Regions from separate parts of the Homo sapiens genome. Here region 1 is linked to region 2. Evidence: promoter capture Hi-C in human tissues and cell types (Jung and others, 2019). All regions are on one chromosome and are shown on one strand. The core of a region is centred on a gene start or on the middle of the fragment in contact, and the rest is flanking DNA. Distances in the headings are between cores, read along the strand shown. Region 1 has its middle 17 kb from the start of MYO18A. Region 2 holds the start of SEZ6 (seizure related 6 homolog).

Region 1 (4,611 bases), core at 1,049-3,548, 190 kb after region 2:
AAGCAGGACTGAAATTAGACCCTGCAAGGAACTTTTTTAGTTGTTAAAGGATTGTTAGAAATCGGCCCAAGTTGTGGAAGACACTGGAGGAATGTCTGTCACTCTGCTTTTCTGACATGCCTCAAGTACAGCTCAGTCTGGACTCAGTTCTAATTGTAGCCTAAAGATTTCAAAATTAATTAAATCGGCATATATGAGTTGAGCTCCTATTCCACGCAAAGTGCTAAGCTGGGAGCAGAAGCTTGTGTCCTCTTCCTGCAAAGCACATCGTCACCACCCCTCCTTGCAACTGAGATGAAAGACCAATGAGAGACATGTGCAAAGTTACACAGCAGGATGGGATTTAAATAACTGCTGAAGACCACAGTAAAGGGGAAGTCACAAAATACTGCGTGACTAATTGTTAAGTGAAATTGCCTTGGAGGCACAGAGGAAAAAAATCAGAGCAGTGGTCAAGGAACGTTGCACAGAAAAAAGGTAGTATCTGAGCAATAATAGTAGAATGTAGGTGATAATCATGGCATCTACTACTCATTGATGAACATTGTGTGCCTTGCACTTTACTCAGAGTATCTTGTTTAATCCTCACAATGACCCTGTGAAGAAAGTATGATTAGTCTCTTCTGACACAGCAGGAAACTGATCACCAGAAGACCAAGTAGCTTACGCAAGCTCACACAACCACCGAGTGGCGGGGCAGGATTCGAACTTAGTCCTGAAGCCTCCCACGTCAGAGGTCCCCGGGAGGGAACACAAGCAAAGGGTGGGAGGTAGGGGAGGGAGCCCCAGGCACAGCTCCTGGTGTGGCTAGAATGGAGGGCTTCTTTGGAAAAAGTAGGTGATCCGGCTAGAAAAGGAGGTCCAGGCTGGCTCATGGAAGATGCTGGTTTCCAGGCATAGGAACTTTAAGTGATTAATTCAAGGAGATTCCACAGCGAGGCAGGTGTATGTTGGAATAGAGGAAAGGGCAGTGCAGGCAGAGAGGTGCCTGGCAGGTTCAGCAACAGCAGTGCAGGGGGCCGAAAATACAAACTTGAACAAGGAAGATGACTTGGGGACCCAACAGAGGGGACAGGTGTAGGAGAGACTTACAAGGAAGAATGTGTGGGGACTTGGCTTCCAACAGCCGTAAGAGCAACTGAGGGAGGAATTGACAATAGATTCCACAATTGTGGGTGGCCCAGGAAGCTAGGCAAGCAAAAGCAACGCTGTAGGCAGCTGAGGTTAATACAAATGGCTAACGTTTGTTACCAGCTACTATCTATAAGCACTTTACATGTATAAACTCATTTCACCCTCACAGCATTCCTATGAAGTAGGAGTGAGGATCTATTATGATTTCCGTTTTTCAGTTAGAGAAACTGGGGTACAGAGAAGTTAAGCAATTTGTCTGAGGTTACACCACTGGTAAATGGCAGAGCTGGGATTTGAACCTGGGTTCCAGAGGCCTCACTCTTCATCACTTCACTAAACTGTGTCTGTTGAGGTAACATCTTCAGAAAGAAGCAGGGTTTTCCACTCCCACTCCACATTCCCCACCCTCAAAGACCAAGCAGGATGGCAGGATTTTTTTGCTGAGTGGCATTGCTGGGGGGGAGTGTCAGGTCTCTGCTGCTACCCTAAGCCAGCTGCTTGTCACCACCGGGCAGTGAGCATGGGGCGTGCGGTGCTGGGGCCTGCACTGCTGGGGCACTCACCAGCAGGAGGGCACCTGGAGCACGGTCCTTCCTCATCACAGTGGAGCAGAAGTAGCACTAGCTGGTGCAGGCCACAGAGCGTGCCTGGCAAGGGAAGACCCAGCCCAGGTAGCACAACTCCATCGGGTTCAGGAGGAAGCAGCCCAACCCCACCTGCACATGAAGTTCAGGAAGATTTTCTTCCTCATGGCTCTGGACACAAAGCAGTCAGGACTGGAGGGACAGGGGAGGAGTGGCAGTGAAGCAACCATGGCATATCACACCCAGAGAGTAGACCCCACCAGGAAGGCCAGCTCCATGCAGGCCCGCAGCACCACGTGGGCAGTGCAGACAGCCAGGACCCTGTATGACTGCAGGCTGGGGTACCAGGTGGCAGCCCCAAGGCATTTGGGGAAAAACCTCCTCTCCTACTAAGAGCTGCCCCTCTAGAAAGAAAGAAGCCCCAAGGGGCCCCAGCCTGGGTCCAGGGAGAGCCCCTCCAGCTGCCAGCTCTTGCACGGTTTCCAGCAGGTACCCCCTCTCCACATCCACTGTCTCCCATTCACCATCTAGTGCAGCACACAGACAACAAAGAAGATGGAGGGTACGGCCACCAGCACAATCTGGAAAGCCCCAGCGGAAGTGGGAGAAGTGGTCATTGGTGCAGCCAGGCCGCAGGGTATTGCAGATGAACTTGCAGTGCTCATCCCACAGACAGCACTTCCCAGCAGGGCGACAAGCAGGATGTGTAAGACCAGGACAGTGAGCCATACCTTGCCAACCACGGTGGAATCGTTCTGCACTCGGGTCAGGAGCCAGCCCAGGAATGACCAGTCGCTCATCTTGTGATTTCTGTGGACACAGAAATCACAAGAAATTGAAGTGAGGGGACAGGAAGGGAAGGGGACGAAAACATAATGCCCCCACAGCCAGATATTTGCAAAGCTATTTCTGGCCCACAGCAAGAGCTCCAGCTCCATCTGTGCCTGACGCCCAGGCATGCCACTCGCTGCCTGACAAGGATGGGAAGAACAAGCTGGCAGAGAAAAGGACACTGCAGAAGAAAAGATGGAAGCAGTGACTCCCAGAAGGAGCCCAACGCAGCCCAACATTCACCAAGACAGGCTGCACACTTCTATTACAGTTAGGCTTCCACTGAACTCTTCCTAACTCAACAGGCTTTCGGGCCTCCCAACTGTCTTGGCATTTTCTTCAGATCGACATAGTACCAGGCATATTTCTCCCAAGATGCCACGGTGGAAATTCATGACCTAGATTGTGTTTCTTCCGAGTCCAGGGTAACATGTTTTTTGACTACTATGTCAGGGTTTGAAAGAGACAGGCCTTACATCCTCCTGTCTCTGTCCAGTGGATTCTCCTTAAGGCCTCATATTGCAACAATCTCATTTTACTTTACATTTCTGCAGCTTCTGACCCTGAGAATTACTGAAAAAATTCCCAAGGGTATAGCTTGTGGGGCATTTACACCCATTATTTCTGTCAACACTCTCCCTTCTGCCTCTCAAATAAACATGTAGTTTATTTATTTATTGTATTTTTTTAGAGACAGGGTCTTACTCTGTCACCCAGGCTGGAGTGCAGTAACATGAACATAGTTCACTGTAACCTCAAACTCCTAGGCGGAAGTGATCCTCCTGCCTCAGCCTCCTGAGTAGCTAGGACTACAGGTGTGTCCCACATGCCCAGCTAATTAAAAAAAAAATTTGCCGGGCACCATGGCTCATGCCTGTAACCCCAGCACTTTGGGAGGCTGAGGCATGCAGATAACTTGAGGCCAGAAATTCGAGACTGCCTGGCCAACATGGCAAAACCCCAACTCCTGACTCTACTAAAAATACAAAAATTAGCCAGGCGTGGTGGCGCATGCCTTGTAGTCCCAGCTACTCGGGAGGCTGAGGCAGGAAAATCGCTTGAATCCAGTAAGCGGAGGCTGCAGTGAGCCGAGCTCATCATGCCACTGTACTCCAGCCTGGGCGACAGGGTGAGACGCCATCTCAGAAAATATGTGTGTGTGTGTGTGTGTGTGTGTGTGTATTATATATATTGTATATTATATATATTATATATATTATATATTTTTTATATATTATATATTATATAATATATTTTATATATATTATATATTATATAATATATATTATATATATTTTATATATAATATATATTATATAATATATATTATATATAATATATATTATATAATATATAATATATATATTTTGTAGAGGCTTGAGGGAGTCTTCTTATCTCACCCAGGCTGGTCTCGAACTCCTGGCCTCAAGCGATCCTCCCACCTCAGCCTCCCAAAGTGCTGGGATTACGGTCGTGAGCCACTGCACCCAGCTGACACAGTACGTAGCCTGCTTACTACGCAGCAGTACGTAGCATGCTTACTATACAAACTCAGGGTAAAGACCAGACCCCAGCCTTCCCTGTAACTGATTGCCTTCTCTAACTCCCTCCTAAACAGAATCCTGGAGATCCTACTGAGAACCTTCCTTCTTCCTCCTTAACTTTCAGGAAGCCAAGTTGTCTTGACTCTTATCTCCCTGGCTGCTCCGTTTGAGTCAATGTGCTGTTCTTCTCTCCACTCTGTAGACATTAATGTTCCTCAGGATACTTTAAGCCTCTTACTGGTCCTGGAGGACGCAGTCCACTAGGATGGCCACAGGCATTTCCAACTCACATTAAACATACTCTCCTGGGCCGGGTGTGGTGGCTCACGCCTGTAATTACAGCACTTTGGGAGGCTGAGGCAGGCGGATCGTCTGAGGTCAGGAGTTTTTGAGATCAGCCTGGCCAACATGGTGAAACCCCAGCTCTACTAAAAATACAAAAACTAGCTGGGTGTGGTGGCAGGTGCCTGTAATCGCAGCTACTCAGGAGGCTGGGGCAGGAGAATCACTTGAACCTG
Region 2 (4,470 bases), core at 1,747-4,246:
TTCCTGAGACCCAACCTTACCCCAGTCTCAGCGGCTTCCACCTTCATAATCTCCCTAGGCCACATTCACACATGCAGAGTTTAATTAACTTTATTGATATTCAGAAATTAGGAGAATGACTAAAGGTAATTGCTCATTAAAAATCATTAAACTGACACAGCAGGCTCGGCACACGCAGCCCCTTCAACACCGCTTTTTCCTCCACTGTGGCTGGATGGCCCAGGCACCCCACACAGCTTGGGAAGATACCCCGTGGCCCAAGACGCCCCTGATGCCTGACGCCAATCAAGACTTGGAGGCTGCAGAAGGGAATAGGGGACTGAGCCTGTGAGCTTGGGCCAAGCCCAGCACGATTTTGCCCTACCTCCGCAGCCTCGGCATACCAGGCCTTCCAAGGCATCTGGGCCGTGCCTGGCTACATCCTGCAGTCTGCATCCTGCCTATGAGCAAAGCTCTGAGGGCCTCATCAGAGAGGTGGCGGGGCTGAAAGGCTGAGGGATGCACCCCTCGGGCCGAAAAGGCTCATAGCCTGAGGTCTTTGCTCCTTTAGGCTCGCCTTCACAAAGCTAAAGTGCCCAGGAACCCCGGGATGGCCAAATGCGCTGCTCCCCACTGAGATGACTCACTATCCCAATGGTTGGGACCTCCAGTCCAGCCGAGGAGAGAGGAGCCTCTGGCTACCCAGCTCTGACATCCCAGCCCTCTCATCCTCAGGCTTGGCACTTCGGGGCTGCCTCTTCGTCTCCCTTGGGGAGTGAAAATAGAGGTCTTTCCCAACAGCCAGACTCCTACCCCACATATCCCACTGGCAGGTGCCTCCATGGGCACTGGAGATCCTGATAGTCAGGAAGGGACACTGCCCAGGGACACACAGACTTGAGGCCACAGAGTGAGCAGATTCCTCCTAACACTCACACCCACATCCCCATCAGGGCTGGTGGGACTCCTGGCCACACCAGCCTTCCTCCTGGATTCCCACAGTCTCACTCTAGCCCTGCAGGGAGCTCTCTGGCTGAGGCTGCACCCACACACTAGTGGCCTCACACAGTCCTCACACCCATTCACTGCTGACCCCTCACCCAAGATTCGGACCACTTGAAGTGCAGACACACTGGGACTGGCTCCTCTAGTCATGCAGGGCCCTGATTACTCTCACATTCAGACCCACAAACTCACACACAAGGCCTTGACTAACTGCCAGGGGACAGACACAGGCCCTGCGCCCCAGGGGAGCTGTCCAGCGCCAGGACCCATCAGGACCCAAGATAGGTTCGGAATTCCTAGGGACATCCCCAGGCAGCTAGGCAGGGATTCACACTTCTCCTTCCCGGTCTTCATCCCTGGGGTGGGTCTTGCAGGACTCTTCCCCTCTCCCCAGAACGTGAGCACACGGTTTCAAGTTCTGGGCGCTGCCGGAGGATCCAGCATGGGCAGCCCGGTAGCGGGGTGAGGACACTGGGCTGTGTGCAAGTGGAGCTAGAGGCTCAGAAAAAGGCTTCTGCGTCTCCGGGGCCACAGTTTTTCTTCCTGGATGAAGAAAACTGCCGTCCGGGGGCCCAGCCTGTCCCTGGCCGCGCTGCCTTGACCTCGGCAGCGGCCTGGAAAGATCGAGCAGGGAGGTTAGAAACTCCCACCCTCACACTTCACATCAGGCCCTTCAAACCATATGGCAAGGGATGGCAGGTCTCAACTCCAAGTGCGGTTCTGCCGACCCTACCAGCCTACTGCAGCGGGAGAAGGACGTGGGTGCCAGTAGCTTCCATGAGAGCTTGTTTGAGCCAGGACGGCAGGTCCAGACAAGACTCTTCCCCGAGGCACGGAACCCCTATCCTCTCCCCAACACTCCCTTGCCGCTCACACCATGGCCAAGCTTCCCTCTACCCAAGACCGACGAAGTTGGGGACCAGACTCCTAGAGGGGGCGCGGGGATTCTCAGGGTGTGGGGAACAGGTCCTCCAGAGACAAATCTGCCTTGCAGGTGGGGAGTGGACCAGGGCCGGGCAGGAAGGCAGGCCGGGAGGGAGGCAGAGCTCGGGGCAGTGGTGTGTGTGTGTGTGTGTGTGTGTGTGTGTGTGTGTGTGTACAAGGAAAGGACTTTGGGGAGGACAGAGTCTCTATCCCAGGATCTCCGCTGCTGCAGCCGAGGGCAGAGCCAGGAGCCAGATAGGGGGTCCAGGCCCTTGGAGTTTCTCTCTAGAATTGTGCTCTAGGTCCCGACTCTGGCGTGGCAGCGCCAGGGCATGGGGAGGTGAGCGAGGTCCCAACCCCGGGTCCGGCCGCCATCCGGCCCCGTCTCCCCTCAGTAAGAACACTAGAGGCCCTGGAACCGGCGGCAAAGTCGAGCGAAGTTTGGCGGGCGGCAGGGGAAGCGGGACCACGGGCCGCCAGCTGGACCGTCCCGACTCACTGCCTTGCGCCCCCCGGCACGCGCCCCAGCACCCTGAGATGCCTAGAGTGTGGCGAGGTAGCGCGCGGGTGAGCGCGTGTGTGCGGGGAGTGGGTGGCGTGATGAATTGCATCAGAGAAATCCCATTAGATCTGGGGAGATGATTAAAGACGAGGTCTCGGCCGGGCGCGAATGGCGGGAGCCGCGGCAGCTTCCCGCCCGCGAAGCCCGCGCCCCGCCCGGCTTGGCCGGCGCCGGGGGCAGCGCAGCCGGCGGGGCGCGGTGCTTGGACTGGGCAGCCAGATGCCCGAAGCTGGGCACCGGGTCTCCCTTCCCACCCCTGGGGCCCCGCTCCCGCCCCCGTCCTGCCGCCGGATGCCGGGGTCCCTTACCGTGAGCCAGGAGCGCCAGCAGCGAGGGCAGGAGCAGCAGGGCTACCGGGCGCATGGTGCTGGTTGCGGCCGCGCCCTGGGCTGGGACCGCGGCGGGAGGGCGGGGGGCTTGGTGGGGCTTGGGCGCGGGGGCAGAGCCGGGTCCGGCCGGGTAGAGGGAGCGGGGCCGCAGCCGTCACCGCCGCTGCCGCCGCCAGCGCCTGACAGAATCAGCACCACGGCCAGCGCCTGGCGACGGCGCCGGGGATCGCCGAGCGGGGCTGGGGGCGGGGGCGCGGGAGGAGCGGCTTACCGTAAAGTCTCATGCAAAGGCGCAGAGACCCAGGGGCAGGAGCCCAGGCTCCCGCTCCACCGCGACTGCCCTACTCATGTGGGCACACGGCCCCTGCCCTTCTGCGCTGCCCACCCCCAGCCAAGCATGCCACCCTCTTTCCCGTTAACGGCCTGCTAAGGAACCTCAATTAATAGCTCACTGTAGCCTTCTGATTCTCCATGAGAAAGAGCAACACTTTCCCCACCCCTCTCCACCCAATCCTGGTACCTGAGGGCGTCAAGGGTGACCTGGGAAGACATCCGAGAGTGAGGCAGCTGGTGAGGCCCGCGTGCCCTTGTGGCAGTTCCGTCTTGGGACGATAATGAAGATGGCTTTTGAGCGTACAAAGGATAATAAATTATTACTTTGCGCTCAATAAATGCCAGGGCTCCAGGCAGCTGCATCAGCAGCAAACTGTGCTCACAGAAAAGCTTAATTATCCTGATATTATAGTTAAAAGCCAGTGGCACTCGCATCCTGGGGAGACATTCTTCACTTGGCAGGAGGCAACCTGGGCCAAGCTGTGGGCAGCTGAAGGTAGTATCCTGGGTCCCCACGTAGCCCTGGGTCTCCAGGACTCTGCCTTGGCCCCTCTGCAGGACCAGAGAAGCCACAGTGACAGTCGATACAGACCCTTCATGCCATCTCTGCCCAGGTTTCTGGAATTGGTGGAGAAAATGGCATAGGCATGAGAGAGGGTTTCCTAGAGCTGTTATTTTATTTTATTTTATTATTGTTTTTAGAGACAGGGTCTCTGTTGCTTAGGCTGGAAATGCAGTGGCACAATTATATTAATAGCTCACCCAAACTCCTGGGCTCAAGAGATCCTCCCACTTCAGCCTCTCAAGTAGCTAGAACTACAGGCATGCACCCCCAAGCCTGGCTAATTTTTAAATTTTTTGCAGAGATAAGGTCTCATTATGTTGCCCAAACTGGTCTTGAAATCCTGGCCTCAAGAGATCCTCCCGCCTTGGCCTCCCAAAGTGCTGGGATTACAGGCATGAGCCACTGTGCCCTACGGCTGTTTTAGATAGAGACTTGAAGGAGGCCCAGGGGTGTAGCCTGTACTATTAAAGGCATGGAAAAATAACTTTCCAGGGCCCTGCTTGGGCTGAGGAGCCCCAGTGAGTCACAGGACAGCAAGGGGGCAGTCACAGCTGTGCCATCCTGAGGCTGCTCTTTAAAGGCAGGGGCTCATGGATGGGCTCACTTGAAGAGCTTTAATGGGTACAATGGGACAGGATCCTATGGCTGATGTTATTATTCCCTGTAGAGGAATAGGAGGGCTGAACTCCCTATTGCCCCTGGGAGAAGGGCAGTTTTTTGTTTAGTTTCTTTTTACATGAACTTGGTTGCTCTCCAAAGCTTCCAGACTCCAG

The links. The method cuts DNA at HindIII sites, captures the fragments that hold promoters and counts their contacts. A contact is called where the count stands out against the background at its distance.
Region 1: a fragment that was not itself captured here is called in contact with the fragment with the promoter of SEZ6 in region 2 in 1 of the 25 tissues and cell types used here (IMR-90 fibroblasts).

What each region holds. Positions count from the first base shown.
Region 1 is chr17:29,195,272-29,199,882 of GRCh38, forward strand. It overlaps the pseudogene LOC100421028. Among named protein-coding and RNA genes, the nearest start is that of MYO18A, 17 kb to the left of the region's middle. The HindIII fragment of the contact is 7,363 bases long and covers 1-4,611 here.
Region 2 is chr17:29,003,037-29,007,506 of GRCh38, forward strand. SEZ6 (seizure related 6 homolog) reads right to left here and starts at 2,997. Exons shown (of 17, transcript NM_178860.5): 1 at 2,779-2,997. The coding sequence starts at 2,833. All of the region lies in intron 2 of LOC105371716 (a long non-coding RNA gene), which reads left to right. RefSeq lists enhancers at 158-784, 785-1,409 and a silencer at 2,760-2,943. The HindIII fragment of the contact is 3,335 bases long and covers 655-3,989 here.